Linked DNA regions of Homo sapiens: region 1 is linked to region 2. The links are contacts of gene promoters, found by promoter capture Hi-C in human tissues and cell types (Jung and others, 2019). All regions are on one chromosome and are shown on one strand. Each heading gives the region's core, a stretch centred on a gene start or on the middle of the fragment in contact. The rest is flanking DNA. Distances are from core to core; before and after follow the strand shown. Region 1 has its middle 84 kb from the start of LINC02367. Region 2 holds the start of CLECL1 (C-type lectin like 1).

Evidence for each region. The method cuts DNA at HindIII sites, captures the fragments that hold promoters and counts their contacts. A contact is called where the count stands out against the background at its distance.
Region 1: a fragment that was not itself captured here is called in contact with the fragment with the promoter of CLECL1 in region 2 in 1 of the 25 tissues and cell types used here (hippocampus).

The regions. Positions count from the first base shown.
Region 1 is chr12:9,448,819-9,453,693 of GRCh38, reverse strand. It overlaps the pseudogene OVOS1P. Among named protein-coding and RNA genes, the nearest start is that of LINC02367, 84 kb to the right of the region's middle. The HindIII fragment of the contact is 3,251 bases long and covers 1,078-4,328 here.
Region 2 is chr12:9,731,379-9,736,150 of GRCh38, reverse strand. CLECL1 (C-type lectin like 1) reads left to right here and starts at 3,054. Exons shown (of 2, transcript NM_001441815.1): 1 at 3,054-3,202. The coding sequence starts at 3,121. The HindIII fragment of the contact is 7,841 bases long and covers 1-4,772 here.

The DNA of each region.
Region 1 (4,875 bases), core at 1,454-3,953, 280 kb after region 2:
CCCCCTAATATTTTTTTAAATTTTTTGCAGAGATCTGGTCTCACTATGTTACACAGGATGGTCTTGAACACCTGCCCTCAAGTTATCCTCTCGCTTCAGCTTCCCAAAGTGCTGGAATTGCAAGTATAAGCCACTGTGCCTGGCTGTGTGTGTGTGTGTGTGTGTGTGTGTGTGTGTGTGCAATAGTAGCCATCCCAGTGGATTGCAGTGGTACCTCATCGTGGCTTTGAGTTGCATTTTCCCAGTGACTGGGATGTCGAGCATCTTTTCATGTGCCTGTGGGCCATTTGCACATCTTTTTTTGGAGAAATATCTATTTAAGTATTTTGCCCATTTTTTTAATCAGATTGTTTTCATGTTGCTGAGATACAGAAGTTCTTTATATATTCTGGTTATTAACCCCTTATCAGATAGATGATTTACAAATACTTGCTCCCATTCTGTAGGCTGCCTTTTCACTCTGTTGATCCTGTCCTTCAATGCACAGAAGTTGTAACTTTTGTTGTTGTCCAATTCATCTATTTTTATGTTATTTTACAAATCCCTCAACTCATCATCAATTTTTTTGTTGCCTGTGCTTTTTGGTGTCATAGCCAAGGAATCATTGCCAAATGCAATGTCATAAAGCTTTTCCCCTCTGTTTTCTTCTACCAGTTTTATAGTTTTATAGCTTTTAACTTTAATTTTTAACTTCATTTTAACTTTAGAAAATCCATCTTAAGTTAATTTGGATATATTGTATAAGACAAGGATCCTACTTCATTCTTTTATATGTGGATACCTCCTTCTTTTTGGAAACTTTTCCTTTCAGTAATCTTACTACCTCCACAGCTTTAGTTTAGATGTTTTTTGTTGTTGTTGTTGTTTCCCAGGGGTGATCAAATCCATATATCCAGCTTTTACCACCTTCCTCAGTTCTAGTCCCCCCATTTTCAAACACCACTGAAAATTTAGTTTGACTAAGTACATCAACCTATTATGTGAAGAAACAACATGTCCCACCCCCACTACGGTGTGGCTTAATGAGCTAAAGTAACATATCAAGATAGACATAATAATCCAAGAAACTGGGGTTCAGAGAAGTAAATATTATTAGGGTGCATCTTGCGCTGTTCCACAGTGAGGCATATAGGGTTTTGGGGACAGAACAATCTAGTCTCTAATAATGTTTTCTCTTATAGCACAGGCACATTTCATGAGCCTTTCCCACTACCTAGGTGTTCCAGTTTGGATGTGGTTTGTTTGGCCTAAGTCTCATGTTGAAATCTGATTTCCAGTGTTGGAGGTGGCGTCTGGTGGGCAATGTTTGGACCATGGGGGTACATCCCTCATGAAAGGCTTGCTGCCCTTATGGCAGAAGTGACTCAGTTCTCACTCTTAGTTCCCGAGAGAATTGCTTGTTGAAAACAAACTTGTACCTCCTACATGCTCTCCTTCTAGAAGAGGATCTAAGGAAATTTATAATAAAAGCAGAGGAACGCTGAAACCAAACCCAATTCATATCAGTAATAGCTACCATTTGTTAAGCTTCCACAATGACATGTAAGATGTTAAGCCCTTTATGTTACCAGGATTATCTCACTTATCTCATAAGAATTCTAGAACATAGGTCCTATTATTATCTTTATTTTATTCGTGAGAAAAGCAGAGACTCAGAAGGCTTAAGTCATAGGCCAAGGTCATTCAGCCAGTTGAATGGTGGAGTGGGGAATATCTGGATCCAGGCAGTCAGACTTTTTTTTTTTTTTTTTTTTTTGAGACGGAGTCTCGCTCTGTCGCCCAGGCTGGAGTGCAGTGCCGTGATCTCGGCTCACTGCAAGCTCCGCCTCCCAGGTTCACGCCATTCTCCTGCCTCAGCCTCCCAAGTAGGTGAGACTACAGGCACCCACCACCACGCCCGGCTAATTTTTTTTTTTTTGTATTTTTAGTAGAGACGGGGTTTCACCGTGTTAGCCAGGATGGTCTCGATCTCCCGACCTCGTGATCTGCCCACCAGGCAGTCAGACTTTATTAGAAAATGCACTTAAAATTAGCAAGAAGGAATGAGAACAACAACAACAAAATTAAAAAATGCTTGCCGAAGAAAACTAAAACAATGTACAATATTTAGCCCTGAGATCACTAGCAGTGAAGGCAAAGAAGAATGCATAATGGGTTTCTATAGCTCTTACTGTCCGGTTATAGAAAATATTTCTACATTAGTACAAGCACTTTTCTTCCTAAGCCCTGAGTTTTGAGAGTTTATCAAGAAGGCCTCTGAGTTCATTCAATTAATGGCATCATCTAAGGCTGTTTAATAACAAATGCAGAGGTAGTCCACATAAGGAACTTTTGCCTTTACCTTTGAGACAAAGCCCAGGGCCTCACGTTAGGAGTACAGCTCTCTAAATATAAGCCTCCAGGGCAGAAGCGAGGGGAGGATGGAGGGACACAATGCAGATTTACAGCCTGGTGGGTACGGCCTTTGTCCTCTCCATGTCTATTGTCACTCTTGAGGTCTAAGCCTCTACTGCACTGCTTGGTTTACTGCACAACCCAACTTGGCTGCTTGCTTCTGGTCTCTCCAAACCATCCTTCACACTGCTTCCAGCTTACTATTTCCAAGACACTGCATTTGCAAATCCACTCCTCTGTTTAAAAATGTTTCAGTGACTTGCAACTTGTCTACAGTGTGAAGTATAAATTTATTAGCTTGTTGTTTAAAGCCTTCTACAACCAGACCCCGACCGACCTTCACGTCCTATTGAGAGGTGACAGCCTGCTGGCAGCCCTCGCAACCCTGGCTCGCTCTTGGCGCCTCCTCGGCCTTGGCACCCACTCTGGCCGCGCTTGAGGAGCCCCTCAGCCCGCAGCTGCACTGTAGGAGCCCCTTTCTGGGCTGGCCAAGGCCGGAGCCAGCTCCCTCAGCTTGCAGGGAGGTGTGGAGGGAGAGGCGCAGGCGGGAACCGGGGCTGCGCTCGGCGCTTGCGGGCCAGCGCGAGTTCCCGGTGGGCGTGGGCTCGGCGGGCCCCGCACTCGGAGCGGCCGGCCCGCCAGCCCGGGGCAGTGAGGGGTTTAGTACCTGGGCCAGCAGCTGCCGTGCTCCATTTCTCGCCGGGCCTTAGCTGCCTCCCCGCGGGGCAGGGCTCGGGACCTGCAGCCCACCATGACTGAGCAGCCCGCCATGACTGAGCCGCCCGCCGGCGCCCCAGCCATGGGCTCCTACGCGGCCGGAGCCTGCCCGACGAGCGCCGCCCCCTAATCCGCGGTGCCCAGTCCCATCAACCCCCAAAGGGCTGAGGAGTGCCGGTGCACAGCGCGGGATTGGCAGGCAGCTCCACCTGCTGCCCCCTGCCGCATCCACTTGGTGAAGCCAGCTGAGTTCCTAAGTCTAGTGGGGACCTGGAGAACCTTTATGTCTAGCTAAGGGATTGTAAATACACCAATCGGCACTCTGTATCTAGTTCAAGGTTTGCAAACACACCAATCAGCACCCTGTGTCTAGCTCAGGGTTTGTGAATGAACCAATTGGCACTCAGTATCTAGTTAATCTGGTGGGGACTTGGAGAACCTTTGTCTAGCTAAGGGATTGTGAATGCACCAATCGGCACTCTGTATCTAGCTCAAAGTTTGTAAATGCACCAATCAGCACTCTGTGTCTAGCTCACGGTTTGTAAATACACCAATCGACACTCTGTATCTAGCTAATCTAGCGGTGACCTGGAGAACTTTTGTGTCTAGCTCAGGGATTATAAACGCACCAATCAGCACCCCGTCAAAACGGATCAATCAGCACTCTGTAAAACAGACCAATCAGCTCTCTGTAAAATGGACCAATCAGCTCTCTGTAAAATGGACCAATCAGCAGGATGTGGGTTGGGCCAGAGAAGAGAATAAACACAGGCTGCCCTAAGCCAGCAACAGTAACTCACTGGGATTGTCTTACCAGAGTATAGAAGCTTTGTTCTTTTTGTTTTTTAGGTCTGCACTGCCTTTACGAGCTGTAACACTCACTGTAAATGTCTGCAGCTTCACTCCTGAAGCTAGTGAGAGCACGAACCCACCGGGGTGAACGAGCAACTCCAGTACACGCCGTCTTAAAAGCTGTAACACTCAGGCGAAGGTCTGCAGCTTCACTCCTGAGCCAGCAAGACCACAAACCCACCAGAAGGAAAAAACTCCGAACCTATTGGAACATCCGAGGGAACAAACTCCAGACACACCGCCTTTATAAAACTAACACCGTGAGGGTCTGTAGCTTCTGTCTTGCGTTAGTGAGACCAAGAACTCATCAATTCTGGACACACTATCAACTTTCTGTTTCTCCAAGGGTGCTTCTTAAACTGGATGATTCACACCCTAGGAGTGTGTGTGTAGAATGGGGTTTGAAGCAGTAGGGTAAAAAACCTAGCGTACCTTCTATTCCAGAGGTGTCAATTTACCAGACAACAGTTATTTTAAAAATTTTTTATGCAAAAACATGTTATAGGGTGGAATGCAACATTTTTATGAGTTTGTGGGCCATTTGTATACATCTTTGGAGAAATGGCTATTTAAATACTCTGCCCATTAATTCTAAACTTAAAACTACGACTCCAAAGACCCTCTAAGGATTTTGCTGGGCCACATCCCAAGACCCTGAAGGGTATTACTCGCCCTCTCCAAACTGCCGAAGTCGGAAGCAGGTGACAAAAAAGCTGACCCTGGAATCACCTTTCGCAAATTTCCCACCTCCAAGCTTTTCGATAGTTTGTAACACTGGCTCCTCTCCCCAAAAGCCTTCCCTTCAAGTCCCAGCGACTCTCCCTGACCCTGCTGGGAAGGCGCACCAATTACCTGTCATTCCAGGAAAGCTCATAGCATAAGATGATCCCATTGGTCATCTCCCAGAACCAG
Region 2 (4,772 bases), core at 1,805-4,304:
CAGGAGAATGGCGTGAACCTGGGAGGCGGAGCTTGCAGTGAGCTGAGATCGCGCCACTGCACTCCAGGCTGGGCGACAGAGGGAGACTCCGTCTAAACTATTAAAATATATATATATATATATATATATATCGCATATGAAAGAACTGTGTAAAAATAAACATTAGTGATTTTGAATTCATTAACTAAGTCTTTGCGCTGTACATAACAAGGACTCGTTGCCCTGATGCTGCAAAGCCAGTCCTTGATAACCCAACCTGGGGATGATATTGGTGAAAATGATGGAGTAGATCTGCTTTCACCTCTTCTATTCAGCATCATGCTGGAGTTTCTTGCCAAGGGAATAAAACAAGAATACGAAAGGAAGAAGTGAAACTGTCTTTATTTGCAGATAACATGATCTTGCATATCATGTCATCCTAAAACATTCACAACAGCAATAAAAATTAGAGGTAATAAACAAGTTCAGCAAGATTACAGGATAAAAATCAATATAAAATAGTAATAGTGCTTTTACAGACTAGCAATGAACAATCCAAAAATGAAATTTAGAAAAATCTTTGTTTACAATAACATCAAAAATAATAAAATAAAGAATAAGTTTAATAACAGAAGTGTAAGAGTTATTCTGTGAACAATGCAAACCATTTCTGAAATAGATTAAGGAATATCTAAATAAAGGAGAGATTCTGTATTTATGGATTGAAAAAATGAATATTACTCAGTTTGCACTATTCCCAAAATTGATCTGCTGAATCCCAGCTGCCTTTTTCATGGCAGAAATTGACATACTTACCCTAATTTTTTAACACTCTTTTAATACTCTACATGCTAGTAATTTTTTTACTTTTATATGACTAGATCATCAGTCATATTTTTCTTTTTTGAGACGGAGTCTTGCACTGTCTCCAGGGCTGGAGTGCAATGGCGCGACCTCAGCTCACTGCAACCTCTGCCTCCTAAGTTCAACCCATTCTTCTGCCTCAGCCTCCCAGGTAGCTGGGATTACAGGCGTACGCCACCACGCCCGACTAATTTTTTATATTTTTAGCAGATATGGGATTTCACTATGTTGGCCAGGCTGGTCTCGAGCTCCTGACTTCATGATCCGCCCGTCTCGGCCTCCCAAAGTGCTGGGATTACAGGCATGAGCCAGGGCACCCGGCCCATCAGTCATATTTTTCATATGAATAAAAGTCTACTTTTTAGTGAAAAATGATTATTCTCATTCTGGAAAACTGTTATAGCCTAATTATAACATTCAGCATAGCATAACTGATTTGGTAATTCAACACATAATTACTGAGCGGCTGTTATGTTTCACACAAAACTAAGTGATGAAAATAAAAATAATAAAATGTGAGTCTTACCCTCAAAATCTAGACAGCATAGTTGAATTATGGCATGGACTTAGAACTCAGTTATCACTCTTAAAATGTACTGGTTATGCCTTTGGGAGGCTGAGGCGGGCAGATCACGAGGTCAGGAGATCGAGACCACCGTGAAACTCGTCTCTACTAAAAATACAAAATATTAGCCGGGCGTGGTGGCGGGCGCCTGTAGTCCCAGCTACTCGGGAGGCTGAGGCAGGAGAATGGCATGAACCCGGGAGGCAGAGCTTGCAGTGAGCCGAGATCGCGCCACTGCACTCCAGCCTGGGTGACAGAGTGAGACTCCGTCTCAAAAAAAAAAAAATTATTGGTTATGCAACCACCTGCAGATAATAAAACCTCTAAAAGTCAGTTTTTCATGTATGTAGTAGGTATTGTCTAGTCACATACAAACAGTTGGAACAGCCCAGAAAAGGGAGAGAGTGTCATGCAGTCTTAAGAGACAGAGGTCGGTGCTCAAGCCTCATCCAGGGTCAGAAGTTGGTCTTTATAGGAGGGATCCCTAAATGCCACAAAGCCAGGATCTGTTCTCTAGTTATTTAATTAACCTAAGTTAAATTTCTTGGATGAGGGGTAGGGATGGGGTGACTGCAGTTTAGATTAATTCTGCAGAATGCACTTGAGTGGGTATTGAAAAAACCAGTTTTTCCATATGCAGATTTCCAGTTAATCTACTAGTCATAAGCTAATGGATCCTGCCATTTTTCATATCTGACATTTCTATGTCCTATGACGGTTTCACAGGTAGCTAGGCTCTCCTCCATTATTTCCCTCTGTATGGTGTTGGCTGCATTTTTCTCTGATTTTACTTCTTCATCAATGATCACATCTCCATCTACTCTCCATTTTCCAGGAATTAGTTGAAATTTTTCATCAACTAATAGGACCCTGAGCCTTTGTGTTATTGTTTTAGACTAACAAATTTTTATTCACTTAATTCAATTTTAGTGGAATTTTAGAAGAAATAGGAGATAAAATCTATGTTTGCTATGTTGTATTCGATAGTAAATTTCTGAACACCTCATTTTAAAATTAGATTTTTTTCTTTTATGTCATTACCTTGAATTATTTTAACAGAGTTATTTCTGTTTCTTAAATATATATTTTTTAGTTCAGAAGTCCTCTGCATAATTCATGTTTTACCTCAGTTTAATGTTAATATTATAAAGCATACAGGAAAGCAAATAGCTTTCAGAATTTTTAAGGTATTATCTAGACAATACAATGCATTTAGAGAGGAGGATAAAAGACATAGGGCCCCTTTCTGTAACTTTCGTAATAAAATCCCTTCTTTTTCTTGTTCTGTTTCCCAAATAGCTATCCTACTTTGGAGAAGATGCTGGAAATTCAGAGTTTCCGCCAGAGAATATATGCCTGAACTAAAAGAGGAAGTGGTCTATAGGAGAAAATGGTGAGATATCTTCTGTGGTATTAATAAAAGTTAAAAGCATTTCAAGTTTAGGCAGAAAACTAACTGAAAAACGAGAACCTACTGTATGGTTAGTAATTTCTTCCATGTCATACAAGTATTCGAGAAATCTGCTACCTTGATTAGTAAGACTGAACACATTGGTTTTGTCATTTATTCATGGAGGAAGTCCACCACCCACTTGGGGAGCAGAAGGAAATTTGCCATCTCAATTTACTTATCAGAAGTTTCTTTGCAGAAATATGATTGTCCCTTCAGTGGGACATCATTTGTGGTCTTCTCTCTCTTTTTGATCTGTGCAATGGCTGGAGATGTAGTCTACGCTGACATCAAAACTGTTCGGACTTCCCCGTTAGAACTCGCGTTTCCACTTCAGAGATCTGGTAAGCTGGATTTAGGGTGCCTTTGAGAATTAAGATTTTACTAGTTATCTCCTTTATTTCTTTCTTATGTATCTAATTGCCAAACTGAAAAGAGGAGATTGGATTCAAAGCAAAATTCATTGAATGCTAAGAATAAGAGCGAATGTTTTTAATGAAGCAAAATGTCTGTTCATAAAATAAATTGCCACTTTGGTTTTAATATGTAGAACTTTGCTTCTGTTTTCATAGCCTTTCTATTTCTTGATTTCTCGTGATGAATGTTTATATTCACACAGCAACTTCTAGCGGGATCACGCCTTTCTGCTCCACAGCTTTGCTCACTCTCAATCAAATCTGACCTTTTAACATAATGTGATAAATTCATCTCCACTGGGAAAAATACCTGTGGCAATTTACTCATATTGTTATTTATTCTTTTACAATATCAATAGGATAAAAATGTAAACTTAAGAAAACATGAAACGTTAGATTTAATTTTATAAAGTCTAGAATTAATGACTAGGTAATTGAATATTTCTGGAATCAGAGGCGATAAGCATATGCCTAAACTTAACATGGTGCCTTCATCACCAAACCCCCTCAAAAATTATAGATTTTCATAGCCAGTGTCTTTTCTATTCTTTGAAGTATTAAGGAAATTTCTCTGTCTTGTTACATTTCCATTCTCTGCTCTAGGGTAAGAATTTTTGTAGCATAGAGTTTATGTAGGTGTTTTAAATAATTTAAAGTTCCTCCTTTGTATTTGCCCTTGTGGAATGAATCTGCTACTTTGTTCGTATTTCCAAGGAATGTATTTCTTCTTTATATTTTCAAAAGTTTATAGTTATCAAAGGAATCTAGTGTGTGTCCTTTTCTGGTTGTAAAAGCATCTTGTTTCTTATTTTAAACCTTACCTCTCTATTTTACCCAGCAGAGGCTAACTTGCTTTCTTTTCTTCCAGCTTAGGCACTTTCACTTCCTATGAAATAGTGAAACATAATTTGAAAAATAACATGGACTAGAACTGCACTGTCATTCCCCTATGCTTCAAAAATGTCCTGTAGTTAGTTTCTTTTTCTAGAGGTTATTTTACTCAGTTTAAGCAACAAAACCAATATTTTTGATTCCGCATTCCAGGGTTTAATTGCCTTTCTGTCTATGGTTTGAACTTTTATAAATAAAACCTTATTCTTTTCCCAGTTTAGGGATGTGGGGCAACATCTTTTAATGTGATCTAGTTCAATCTTAGAATGCTAAAAATGAGAAAACGAACTATATGAAGATTAAATTACCTACCTATAGTCATGCTTATGACCAGAAGTCAAATATCATATTGTTCTTGTGCTGTATACGTGTGGTGTTAGATAAACGCAACTTTTGTTCTCATGCGTCACTTCGCCATCAAGCGAAAGAGCTGTTGGATAGATTAGATTTTTGTTGTCTTACATACAGAGTCCTACACAATTGTTCCTGATCTCTTCTAACCTCATACCTTTCACTGATTTTGCTCTGGCTATTGGCCTTTTCTTTTCTCCTAAAGGTTGTCATATTCCTTACCATTTCAGAGCCTCATAAAATGCTGAATCTTTCT